4 separate regions of the Homo sapiens genome follow, and regions 2, 3 and 4 are each linked to region 1. The links are contacts of gene promoters, found by promoter capture Hi-C in human tissues and cell types (Jung and others, 2019). All regions are on one chromosome and are shown on one strand. Each heading gives the region's core, a stretch centred on a gene start or on the middle of the fragment in contact. The rest is flanking DNA. Distances are from core to core; before and after follow the strand shown.

Region 1 (3,204 bases), core at 431-2,930:
TCTTCACACACATTTTCCCTGGGCTATTCTCCTATTGCTTTAAGTTCTGTGGGCTCTGAGGCTGGCTTTGGCTCCACACAAACAATTAAACTCCTGTCCAACCAGGTCTCAAAGCCCTGTGGCTTGCCCTTGCCTTGCTGGAGATTTGACTGAGGCCCAGCAGGGCCCAGCACATTTCCAAGGGTAGATGAGACGCACTAGGCCCTCATGCCAGGGACACAGGCAGGCAGAAAAGGGGTATTGTTGTCCTCTCCCCCACACTGAGGGATGAGGCATCTCTGCTCAACACACACACACACACACACACACACACACACACACACACCCCATGCCAAAATGCCAAGGAAGGAGTCAGGAGCAGAACCTGGCTCAGGACAGGATGGGGGCTGCCATGGGGACCAGATTCTAGGTGATTCAGCACTCTGCCCACTCTTGGCCCAGCCCATGGGCCACACTCATGACAGCTCCAGATGCCAAAGTGCTGACTTGGAGGCTGAAGCAGAATCTTTTCTAAAATCCAAAATTATCCAGCCCTCCAGCAGGGCTCCTCATCCAGGCCTTTACATCAGGGCTCAGGCCAAGCCCCAGGAGGAGTCTGCTCAGTCATTCCCCTGGACCCTGCCCCTTCCCCATCCTAGTTTCCCAATGCCTAGCACCCCCTCCCCCAATCCATCTAGGAAACAAACCTGAACAGCTAGAGGAGTAGAGTGGCTGCATGGCTGGAGAGGAACATAAGAGAGAGGCCTACTAACCCCCAGCATTCTTCCCCAAGCCACAAATAGGATCGAACATGCAGAAAGGGGTTATATTCCACAACCAAGATCCCCACCCAGGGAAGGGGGGTCCAGAGGCCACTGAGGGAGGGCTGGGTACAGGCTGTATGGCTCCACACAGCACCAGGAAGGGCAGCTAGGGAAGGTGACGGGTGTCAGGCCAGCTAACAGCCAAAGGGGGGAGAAGGCGGGGTTCTTGAGAGGGACTGTGATGCAGGAGGACACCAAGAGGCAGCTGGGAAGGGGCTGGGACAGGGCGTGCAAGGGGGAACCAGGGGAGGACAGAAACTGAGGGAGCAAATGGAGAGACAGGACACCAACTGGTAGGGGCATGAGATGGGGAAGAGAATAGGGGAGGCAAGAAGGGGCTGATGTGTGCGGTAGGAAATACAGGAGGCATGGGGTCATCCAAAGTGGGGTGTCGAGGTAAACAGAAGTACAAGGGCAGGCAGGGCTCACGGATGAGGCGGGGACAGAGAGGAAAGGGAAAGGGTTGAGGATGCGGGAAGGGGGAGGGGACGCGGCCAACGAGATAGAAAGGGTGTTGGGGTGGGCAGGGGGCTGGGAGCTGGACGGGGACGGGGTGGGCATACGAACAGAATCGGATGGATTCGGGGCAGGTGACAGTGTGGAGAGGGGAAGGGATGGGAATGTGGACGGAGGGGGAGGGGGCAGGTCAGGGGATGGAGACAGACGAGGGCGGGAACAAGGGGGTGTCGCTAGGTGGGTTTCCATGACTCTCTACCCCCATCTCTCCGGTGTTCGCGCTCGCCTACCTCCAAGGGCTCGGGCTCCGGCCCTGGGCGCTGTCCGAGCTGTCCGCTGCCGGCGCCGCCACTTCCCCCGCGTCCCCTGCAGCGCCTCTCGCCGCCAGCCGCCGCATTAGGGCAGAGACCAGCCCGTGCGCGTCCCCGGGCGGCCGGCGCGCCCCCGACACCCTGCGTGCGCGCCCCCGCGCCCCTCCCTTCGCGCTCCTAGCGGCCGCTGAGCGGGGACCAGGACAGAGGCGGAGGGAAGGATGCTCCGGACGCAGCCCCGCCTGGCGCGCTGGGGAGCGGTGCGCAGAGCCAGGGCCGGAAAAAAAAATCCTCCTTTCTCTTTTCACCTGAGGCCTCTTTGCGGGCTTGCCTGGAGAGTGATAACTAGTCTCCCCGTTTCCGTTCGCTGAGCACCTACTACGTGCAAAGCACACAGGAGGAAGTACCCTGAAGCCCCAACAGGATCGCTTGTTTGCACCTCCACCATAGACTGTGACTTTAGGGAGCAGGAAGTTGCCGGACAGCTTGTGTTCTCAGGGCCTAGCACAGAGACTTGTTTGTGGTAAACTCTCCAGCAACATTTGTTGATTGGCAAGTCGTTGGATCCTGATTCAGGGATGTGAGAGAGGTTGTGACTGCTATGAACAGTGCGGGGCTTTCTTTTAGAAATGGGAGATTTCCTCTGCCCTAGGGGGACTCAGGCCTCAGTCGTGGCTGGAGAACTATCTGACATGATAGCAAGACATTTATCTGTGGACATCAGTTTCCACAACTGAACCATGAAAAGTTGATTGGGTGGTCGCCCAAGGTCTCTTCTAGCTCTGACACGAAGACTGCATTAGGTTCTGTGCACAGGATCTGAGCTCAGAATTATCACCTGAAACAGTGGAAAGATCCCAGTTAGGGAATCATAGAATCTTTGTCTTGGAAGAGCACTTGGAAGCTTCTAGTTCAGCTCCTCATCCAAAACTACAGTCCCCTGCAGCATCCCTCTGTGGCCCCATTCAAGGGCTACTTTCTCTGTGCTCATAGCTCCTACCCTGGCACCACTGTCTTTTATTCTGGATGAGAACACCAAAGTTCAAGGAACCTGCCCAAGTAATAATTCAAAGCCCAGATGCATCTGACAGTGCCTAGTTAAAACTACTTTGCTATTTTAAGATGGGCCCTACAAGTTTTAGATTTCACCAATACTAGAATCTTCTAATATGGTCAAGTTGAAGGATCACAGGATTTGCCAAGAAAGTCCTGGCTTACCAGCAGGGTAAACTTGGGCAGTTCACTTAACCTCTCTAAGTCTTCTTTTTCCCATCTGTAAAATGGGCATAGAGTGAGCATCAATGAGATAAGGTACTGAACCAAACTGTTCTTTACAAATGTTAATTATTGTTCAGCCTTCCCTCCCCTTTCTTCATTACTTTTAAACAGCAAATACACGAAGGTCTAGAGAGATGGACCCCACACAGTGGTTTGGTGGTTGAAACTGAACTGGGACTCAAGTTTCATGGCCTTAGTATAAAGAAATTAAGTGTGGGCCTAAAGGGAGCATGGTGACCCCCAGAGGCCCTGAGGGTGAAGGTGTTTCCTTGGCCTCGGTGGTGTCCCAGAGCTGCAGGCAAGTCCTGATGGAGGGAGAGGCACCCCCTGCTGGTGATGGACTCTGGGGACTAAGA
Region 2 (3,204 bases), core at 523-3,022, 250 kb after region 1:
AGATTTGGAAAAACCACCAAAAAAATAAAAATAATAATAATAAATGAGGAAAGAGAGGAGAGTTGGGAGTAGGAGGGTGTGAGGAGCGCGGGCCAAGGAAGGCAGCAGGTTCCAGGCCATGCTTAGTCCCCTAGTGTCTCTCCTCACATCCAGCCCCAGTGACAACTGGTGTCCTCAGCTCAGGCCATGGCGGTGAGCCCCTGCCTCCCTGTGCCTGACCCAATTGAAGGTCCTCCTGTGACTTCCCTCTGTCTCTCTTTCCAGTAACTTAGAACCCTCCCTGACCGCTTTCCTTCTTTTGGGTCTCCAAGCCTTGCAAATGCTGCTTCCTTGCCTGGAGCATCCTTAGCTTGGGTTTCTGTCACTTGCATTCAAAAGAGTCTAACATAAGAGAAATGGTCAGATAGGAGGGCAGAATGGATCACTGTTAATTATGAGGACTTTGGAGGCAAACTGCCCAGATTCAAATCCCTGTTCCACCCCTTGCTAGCAGTGTGACCCCAAGCAAGTCATTTAACTTCTCTGTACTTCATCTGTCAAATTCACTCATCACAATACTTAACTCACAGGGCTGCCGTTAATTAGTTAATGTCCACATGTATCTGATTAGAAGAGCACACTGTGTAACACAGCCCATTACGACTGCTCTAATTCCAGCCCACAGGGCCAGCTGGCCGGGGCCCCTTTCCACAGCAGTGGTGAGTCCAGATGGGCCACACCTGCTGCTGCTCCAGGGCTGCATCCCCTTGTGCTGTCCTCCCAAGGCTACATCTGCAAGTGGAGAGGATTTGGCTATCACTCACTGGGGGAGAGATAAGTGTGGAAGCAGGAGGGGGAATTGGGGAAGGAGGGAGGCTGCGTGTGGGACACCTTCGGAAGCCCTTGTCTTCTTCGTAGTCCCCAGGGAAAGGAACGCCTGCCTGCTCTGTAGAGGGCAGGCTGAGCTCTGAGTGTGGGCTTCCTATTCTCACAGCAGCTAGTTTCATACTTAAAAGTCTGAAGCCAGATATATTCTGCCACCAGATTAATTTTTTTCTGAAGCTCCCATTTGGTCTGTTGGAGGAATTCACATTCCTCCGGCTGTCATAACTTTGCTCTGTCTTTCAAGAGCTCACACCCCTGGCCTTGTTTTGCAAATAGAGCATTCTTTCTCTCCTGCCTGTCCTTTACCTTACAAAGCTTCCCCATACTGAACAAAAACATTTTCAACTGCTCTGTAGTGGAAGGTAGGGAGGCCGGGGTGGAAGTAAAGGGTAATTAAATAATTTCTGCTGCAGCACGAAAAGCTGAACAGCATGAAGTATTATTAATACGATGTGCTCTTCCTAATGAATTAACACAGGCAATCCCTCTCTCCTGTCTGGTGTTCAGTAAATATTTGTTGAATGAATGAATAACAGCTTATGATTCTGTCTTTCCTGCTCTGATGAATTATGAAGTCCATGTAGCCAAATCAGCATCAAACCCATTTTATATGCAGTCTGTGTTTTGAGCCCCAGGTCAAAGTGAATAAAATATGTGTGAAAATGAAGTAATAATGTCCATTGGAGACCACTGGCTTCCTGTATTTGTAGGGGATAGGGTCTACCTGGCTTGGTATTGGTGACTTGAGAGTAGCCTTCCAGCTGCTTTTCTCTGGTTCCCAGGTAAACCAGGGTCAGGCTGTCCCTTCTAGGTGGAACTCTGTTGAGACCCCACAGGCAGCTCTGGTGAATGACCAGCATGTGCAAACTCATTGCTCTCCAGCTGACCCCAAAACCATGCAGGAAGAAGGGCAATTCCTGCAGGACTGAGTCTGCCCCCGGCTGAGCCTTGCTTTGCTCATTGCAGATATTTAAGTCTCTCCATAGTGCTGTGACTCACCTGTCTGTCCTTGGTTGGAATTCCACAGGGAAATCACATGCAGAACCTGGTCACTATCTGTACACAAAGCACATGGAGAGATTCTAGGGACAATCATTTCTAAGTAAATTACCTAAGGGCAGAAGAGTCTGCCCGGGAGCTGGGGGAGAATGGAGCAGGGACAGGAGATGGGAATAAGTGACTTGTACATTAATCACAAAGCAATCAGCAGATGACAAGGGGCCTTGGAACCACCACGTCTGTCTAGCTGGACGAGGTGAAAGAAAAGGTCACCCTTGTCTGGGAACTCTCATCCATCTTCAAGACACACACTTACCTGGCTTGCATGTGCCTGAGCTTCCTGTTTTTCCCGCCCAGCAGAGATGCTGCCCTGGCCTGGTTCATTGTCCATTATTTGCCCTCTGGGCCATCCCAGCATCCACCTGGCCTGCCCCACCTGGCCCAGGCCACAGAGGAGGGCATGGCTTTGGCTAGTTGACCTTTAGGAAGTCATTTACTGGGTGTAACCCACCTCAGTTCCTGAGACCTGTAAACTCCTCTTTCTCTGCCCTGAATCTTCCCCAGTTATCAGGGCCCAAGCAGGAGAGTGGGCGTGAACTCTCAGCGCTCTTCCCCTAACTTTTTCCCTTGATCCTCCCCAGCTTCTTCCCTCTCCTGGCAACCCACCCCCTGCCCACTGTCCCCTGAACACAGAGGCTCCTGATGGATGGAGCTGTCTTCTTACTTCCGCTGGCCCTCCCTGGGCTGTACACTAGCCCTTGGATCAAAACCTGTTCCCAAGTTCAGATCAATTTCTTTCTGACATATTTTCACAAAAGTGGGTTTTGTCTCCCAGGTCATTTGAATTTGAACTGGAGCAATGTCCTTGCCCAGGTGTAACCCTTGGCAGTGGATTTTGGCAGTGGTGATGAGTTTGGAGTAGAAAAAAAGAGTCCTGATTAGAATGGCTACTCCATGGCTCAGATCACAGATAGAGCATGAGATTTGGATTTAGGCCTTGGATTTATTTTATTGATTGATTGATTGATTGATTGATTGAGACGGAGTTTCATGCTTTCGCCCAGGCTGGAGTGAAGTGGTGCAATCTTGGCTTACTGCAACCTCCACCACCCCTCCCCCGGCCCTCACCAGGTTCAAGTGATTCTCCTGCCTCAGCCTCCCGAGTAGCTGGGATTATTGGCACCTCCCACCACGCCTGGCTAATTTTTGTATTTTTTTCGTAGAGACGGGGGTTTGGCCATGTTGGCCAGGCTGGTCTCGAACTCCTGACCTCAGGTGATCCACCCACCTCAGCCTCCCAAAGTGCTAGGATTACAGGCGTGAGCTACTGGGCCCGGCCCC
Region 3 (3,204 bases), core at 460-2,959, 230 kb before region 1:
AACATCACCCCCCAGCCTTCATGAGCTTTCACTGGGTCTCGCTCCTCCTTGGAGAATTCCTGCAGAACTGGAGGCAGAGACCAGGGGCTCAGGCACTGTCCTCCTGGCCTGCGAGCCCCTCCCCGACTCATCCTTCACGGAGAAGCAGCAGTTCACTAAGGCATGTCATGTGAGGTCAGGAAGGCCCGGCTTGAGGGTGTCCCTTATCCTTTCTCAGTAATTTCTCCTAGCCCCCTCTCCCCCTCCCCCAAAGTGTCTTGGTCCCCCGCGGGTCTCACAGCCGAAGCGGAGGATGGCCTCCCTGCTGACAACGGTGCCCACTGGGTTGGAGGCCAGGCACTGGTAGACCCCGGCATCCTGTGCCTTGGTGGGGTTCATGATGACCAGGTTGCCCCCCACCAGCTGGTGACGGGAACCTGGCTCCAGCTTCATCTCGGTACCATTCATCTTCCACCTGCAGCAGGGGACAGAGGAAGGGGACCTCTGAGTCCTGCCTGGTGGCAGGGCTGATGAGAGGGAAAGTTCAACGGCTGCCCAGGGCCTCCCAGCACCCACTGCAGAGGCCTTACCGATAGGTGGCTGGAGGGCTGGCCCGGGCGCGGCATGCCAGCAACACCTGCTCCTCCGTGGACTCCTCTGGGAATAGCACACTGAGGGGCTGGTCTTCAAAGACAGGCCCGAAGGTGGTTTGGGATCCCAGGGCTGAACTCCAAGCTGCAGGTGATGACACCACCAGATGCCTCAGAGCCTTGGCCTGGCTGGAGCCTGGCCTCTTGGGCTGTGCTGTCCAGTAAAACTTTCTCTGATGATGGGAATGTCCCATTTTCTGCACTGTTCAATGTGGTAACCACTAGCCACGTAGGGCTATCGAGCACTTGACATGTGGCTATTGCGACTGAAGAACGACATTTTACATTTTATATTACTTAATTAATTTAAATTTGAATTTAAATAGGCTGGGCAGGCCCCATCTGGCCATACTAGTTCAATCAATCACCCATCCTACACTTAGGTATTGAGCACCTGCTCTATACCCAGCACTGGGCTAGAGACTGGCTTGTAAAGATGATTAAGACACAGTCCCTCTTCTTCAAGGGGCTTGCGGTCCAAGGAGGGAGACAGGAAATTGACAGTGCAAGGTAGCAAATGCCATAAAGTTCAAGATGCTGGGGCCTCAGAATGGAAGCAGTTCTACCTCCCAGGGGGCTTTCAAGGGACCCTTACAGAAGAACTGATCTGTGGGGTGTGAGGTGCATGAGACGTCGCCAGCCACAAACATGCAGAGAGGATGTGTGTCCCTGGAGCCTAATACCCTTACTGGGGCAGTGTGGACCAACGAGGCCTGGGCCTGGGGACTAGGCTGGCCCTCTACTAGCTGTGGGACCTTGGGAAAGTTATAGAACTCTTCTGAGCCTCAGTATCTTCACCTGTGAAATGAAAAGAATATGAGTTCACCTCCCAGGGTCTGCATGAGGATTCAGCCAGACAAACCCTTGGAAGGTGGCGGGCACGGAGAGTGTGCTCAGCAGATGTCTGCTGGAGCCACATGTGGGGTGGGGACTTGGAGGAGAAGGATTGCCTTATGGTGGGTGGAGGGTGGGCAGTTTGCTTTGGTGGCAGTTTTATACAATTCCAGTATCACAATTCAAGAAATGTCCAGAAAAGGGAGTGACTTGCCCATGGTCACCCAGCAAGTCTGTGGCACAGACAGATCAATTCCTCCTGAGCTTGGTGGACCAATGAGCACCACACAGGCAAATGGGGCAGACTCCTCTCTCTTCATGCATCATTGTCCTGCTGCAGGGCAGGGCAGGGGATGAAGAGCCACAGATTGGCCGGACATCACACCTGCCCTTCGACAGGGCTGGGGTGGGCTCTCTGCTGACTGGTGGGGCCAGTCCGTTTTGCTTCTGCGGTGTCAGGTGGGAGCCAGGCTATCCCTAATTGGCTTCTACCTCTTAACGCAGCTGATTTCAGGCCTTCCTTGGTGGGTCATGGGGAAAGGGATCCCCATTAACTAATTAGTTCCTTTCCCAGCGCATCCAGCCATCAGTCCTCTTCCAGGGGTAGGGGGTGGCCCCATGCTGCAGCTGAGGCCCAGCCTTGGCCCCCTGGGAGTGAGGGCAGCTGCTAAGCAGCTCTCAGAATGAGGTAGGAGGCAGGGCTCCCAGGAATGGCCCGGTGCAGGCATCCCTTGTGCCATTCTCCCTCACTGCCGCCCCAGGCCTCAGAGGCGGAGGCGGCGGGCGGTGACGGCATCATCTCGGCTGGAAAGTCCAGCTTAATCCCAAGTTAATGATGGTGGTGTACGGTAGGAATCCTGCCCCAGCTGGCACTGCTGGGAGGGGAGGCAAAGGAGGCGCTGGGAGGCAGCCGGACTGCTGGGAACCACCTAGTACAATAGCAGCTTCCAGGAACGCTGGGTGATGGGGTGGCTGAGTGGGCTCAGGGCATGTTGATACATTCAGACTCTTTCTTCCCGAGAAACCTTTCTCCTCTGCTCTCAGCTGTCCACTCACCCAAATATTCACATACACACCCCTTCGCATCTCTCACCTACACACATTTTCTTATATGCACGCTCATGTCATACACACATTCGTACATATGCACCTCCCTAAGCTGCTCAAATGGCAAGATACATACATTTACACACACATCCATTCCCCCCTGACACACAGCTATAGATGGCCATGGAGACTTTTATATATAATCCATGCATTCATAATAATAAAAATAGGTGCTATAGACGGACTGCTTACTATTTATCCCATACCATGCTCCATATTTCCTTCTCATAACCTCTTTACAAGATAGGTATTGCCATTTTCTTATTTTCCTGACATGGAAACTGACAGTTAGAAAGCTTCAATAACTTGCCCCAGATCCCACAGCGAGAAGGAGCGGATCTGGGGGGTTGGACCTTGGCCAGGCTGACCCCACCACAAGCATTCTTAACCCCACTGTTCCTGACTCTTGACCTCTGTTTCCCATCAGAACCACCAGAGGCCCTGCTCCATCTCACAGATAAGGAGTCAGAATCTCTTGGAGTGAGGCTCAGGAGACCAAGTCTTAGAAAATGCCCCTGGGCATTCTGCAGGGAGGCTGGGATATGAGAGCTGGTCACACTGTGCTGTGAGACTTTCTGGACACATTCATTATCCCCAGCGTAGTACCACCTCCATGCAGGCACCTCACTCATAC
Region 4 (3,204 bases), core at 496-2,995, 140 kb after region 1:
ATTCCTGCAACAGCTACCTCAATAGTCTCCCATCCTCCTGCCTCTTTCATCCCAAATCACCTGAGGATGGGTCCACAGATAAACTGCTGAGCCTGGCAATTCGGGCCCTTCATCAGCTGCTCCCACCCTGTATACTCAATGTGGCATTGTCGCACTGTGAAAATGAGGTCTCACATTCTGCCTACAGATTTTGGGCTACTGCCTTAAACGATCTGGGCCTCCATCCCCCGGTCTGTTAAAAGGGGATATTAGTCAACTCAGAGTCTAAGATGACAGAGATGAGAAAAGGCTGGCATCTAATAGTAGCTCTATAATTTTCCTCCCTTGCCCCCTACCCTCCAGACAACCCATTCTACTCTGCTTGTCTCCACTTTCCTGCCTTTGCTGGTCCCCATATTCTCTTCCAGTTCAAATCCTATCCCTCCAACTAGGCTCAGTTGGAGACTCAGCTCCTCCGTTAAACCTTTTGTGAATAATGCTAGTCCATTAAGGTGGTTTCTTTTTGTATTTCTATGGCACTTCCATCGTCTTGAAATATTAAAATTGGTTTCATATAGTTCCAACCTGTCACTCTGAGCTCCTTGAGGCCATTATGCTCCGTAGCAGGGGTGGAGAGTGGGAACATGGGGGTGGTTTAGTGGGAACTTAATATGTGCTCATTCAATATATGAAGGTGAGAATCCCCTCTGTGCATACAGAACTCAGACCTTCAAGCCAACTTCACAAAAGCCACCAGGCATGGCAGTCACCACTGGCTGTACCCTTGGAAAAGACAGGGCCAGAAGCTCAAGCACTGGATGACGGCAGGCAGCCCAGGGAAGCCACTCCTCACAGGACTCCACACCTTGGCCTCCACCTCATCCATTCCCCTGTTGTTGGTTCTGCAGGCTCTGGTCCAGACCCATCAGTAGGGTGTGGCCTGCCATGGAGCCGAGTTTGTGATGTCTGTTCTGAGTGGTCCAGGCTGAAGTCCCCACCAAGGCATGGGTGTTGGGCATTGGGCCTTTGCCCTCCTCTAGTGGCAGTCACCCAGCTTTTCTAAGCCACCAGGCAGCAGCCTAGCACCCACCTTTGGCACCTTCTTACTTTCCTCCCCCAGTCTTCATGATGTCCAGCTGGCAGAGTGGGGAACCCTGAAGCCAAACCCCTAACTGGGCCTGCCAGTTCCTGACTGAAATTGACCTCCTTCATTGAGAGCCAGGACGGAATCTTCCAGAATGCTAGAGCTGCACGGCTCAGGATGCAATGCTGGAAAAGCATGACAACTAAAGGGGTCTTCCACTCCATTCTTTAGGGTGAGAGGTGCCTGGGCCCAGTGACAAATTCTCACCCACCCCACTACATTCCTTAGTCCACTGTTAACTTCGGGAGGGTAGCACCATGCAAAGCAAAAATGTGATCTTAGGTGCATGCTGTGACTGTGAGCTGCACCTGTCCTCACAAAGCTGCTGAATTCCCCATTCGTCTCCTGGCCTTTGCAAGAGGGTCCGAGGCAGTATGAGAGAAGCCAACCCTTCTCTTCCCGGACCCAAGGGCTGTGCCCCTTCTCTCAGCCAAGCCTTGTGTCTCTAGGCACAAGGACAGCTCAAGCGTTAGCGTCTGGCCCCACCCAACTCCTTCCTCCCGGGTGTGTGTGCGTTAGGTAGAGGGGGCCTCTGGCCACTCAGGAGTTAAAATGGCAGCGGGACTGGAGGGGGTTGGCGTGGCATGCAGACTGGGAGGAGGCGACCGGAGTGGGCTGGGGAGGTTGGGAGAGCGGCGGAGAAGCGAGTGAGGAGGGCGAGCGCGAAGCCGGGAAGAGGGGCGCGCGTGGAGGGGGTGCCGGGCGCCGCGAGGGCCTGCTCCGGGCACCTGCGAACGCGCGGCGCTCTCAAGGAGCGCCTGGCTCTCGCCCGCCAGCCTCCGGCCGCGACGCGCCCAGGGCGCGGAGAGGGGGTGGGGACGGATTGGGATTCTGCCATCGCCCTCACCGGCTGGGCCCTGGAGCCGCTCCCAGGATAACTCCACGTTGGGGAGGGCGCCCGCCGAGCCTCCCCGGCCTGTGCAGACGGCGCGCGCGGCGGGAGGGCGCGGACCAGCGTCCCCAGCCCGGCCCCGGGCGGAAGGCGAGCGGAGCGCGGCCGCGCGGGCAGCAGACGGCAGACGGTGCCCGGCGCCCACGGGGTGAGTGTGCAGCTTCGGGGCTGACCTGGGCAGCGCCGCCGCCGCCGGGGAATCGTGGACACCGAGGTCGCTGGCGTGGCCGAGGCGTACGCGGCGGGAGCGGCCGGAGCAGCCGCCTCAGGGCTCCTGGCTCCTGCCCCGGCACCGCAGCTCCGCCTGACCCGGGTGGGGGCCAGAGGAGGGCCGGCCGCTGCCTTCCGCCGAGACGCCTGCGGGGGAGCCGGAGACTTGGGAGAGGGAGGCGGCCGAGGGGCAGAGGGACGGAGGGCTGGAGAATGCCCAGAAGCGGCCAGGGAGAGGGCGCCTGGGCCTTCGCCTGGAGAGGCCAGAACCTCCCCCAAACTGTTGCTGGGTAGAGTGGGGCCCTGGAGATGTGGAGGAGCCGAGAGGTGGCAGTGAGGTTAGGGAGGGCGTGACACGGGCGGACTGGCAGGCTGGAAGCGCTCCAGAGCCTGGGGACTTTCTCCTCCTTGGAGCTCGCGAGTCTGTGCGGAGGGACAAGGTGGCCTTGGGTCTGTCTGAAGTATCTGGAACCAGGAGCTAGGCTCCTCCCGGGCCGGCTGGCTGGGGTCCGACCGCAGCCTGGGATGGGACCTTTGGGGTGGGGGATGGGCCGGCCTGGGGCTCAGCCTGGGGACTCGGTCAGGGGGAAGCGGAAACGGAAGGGTGGCTCTGAGCCCACCGCAGGACCCAGGAGACAGGATGGGCTGGCCAGCCACAGGTGGGCCGTCTGTCCTGCTGGCAAAGGGTGGCGCAGGCTCTGGCTGCCCAGCCGGCGAGGAGCCGCGGGGTGAGGGAACTGAGCTCCATCTGGGGCCGAGCGGAGAAGCTAAAGAGGTGCAGGAGACCCGGAACCTGGGGAGGGGCCCCGGGGGTAGCACTGTGCTCCCTACCCTTCCTCCCCCACCCAAACGAACAGGAAGGAAAATGTCAGCTGGGCTTTGTGCTCTGTTCCTCAGGCTGCCGCAGCTCCCATCTGTTGGAGCCAACGCAGCTTCTAACTGGGCGACTGGCAGGGTTGGAGGGGGTGGGCTGGGCACA

What was found. The method cuts DNA at HindIII sites, captures the fragments that hold promoters and counts their contacts. A contact is called where the count stands out against the background at its distance.
Region 2: a contact is called between a fragment that was not itself captured here and the fragment with the promoter of NFASC in region 1, in 1 of the 25 tissues and cell types used here (H1 embryonic stem cells).
Region 3: a fragment that was not itself captured here is called in contact with the fragment with the promoter of NFASC in region 1 in 1 of the 25 tissues and cell types used here (hippocampus).
Region 4: the fragment with the promoter of LRRN2 here is called in contact with the fragment with the promoter of NFASC in region 1 in 1 of the 25 tissues and cell types used here (pancreas).

The regions. Positions count from the first base shown.
Region 1 is chr1:204,827,128-204,830,331 of GRCh38, reverse strand. NFASC (neurofascin) reads right to left here and starts at 1,680. Exons shown (of 30, transcript NM_001005388.3): 1 at 1,550-1,680. The HindIII fragment of the contact is 4,389 bases long and covers 1-3,204 here.
Region 2 is chr1:204,572,403-204,575,606 of GRCh38, reverse strand. LRRN2-AS1 (LRRN2 antisense RNA 1) reads right to left here. Exons shown (of 13, transcript XR_007066814.1): 3 at 1-1,920. Among named protein-coding and RNA genes, the nearest start is that of LRRN2-AS1, 9.8 kb to the right of the region's middle. RefSeq lists an enhancer at 2,139-2,839. The HindIII fragment of the contact is 9,492 bases long and covers 1-3,204 here.
Region 3 is chr1:205,055,431-205,058,634 of GRCh38, reverse strand. It overlaps CNTN2 (contactin 2), which reads right to left. Exons shown (of 23, transcript NM_005076.5): 3 at 570-714; 4 at 279-454; 5 at 1-67. Among named protein-coding and RNA genes, the nearest start is that of CNTN2, 14 kb to the right of the region's middle. The HindIII fragment of the contact is 5,062 bases long and covers 1-3,204 here.
Region 4 is chr1:204,684,279-204,687,482 of GRCh38, reverse strand. It overlaps LRRN2 (leucine rich repeat neuronal 2), which reads left to right and starts at 1,745. Exons shown (of 2, transcript NM_201630.2): 1 at 1,745-2,163. The HindIII fragment of the contact is 8,916 bases long and covers 1-3,204 here.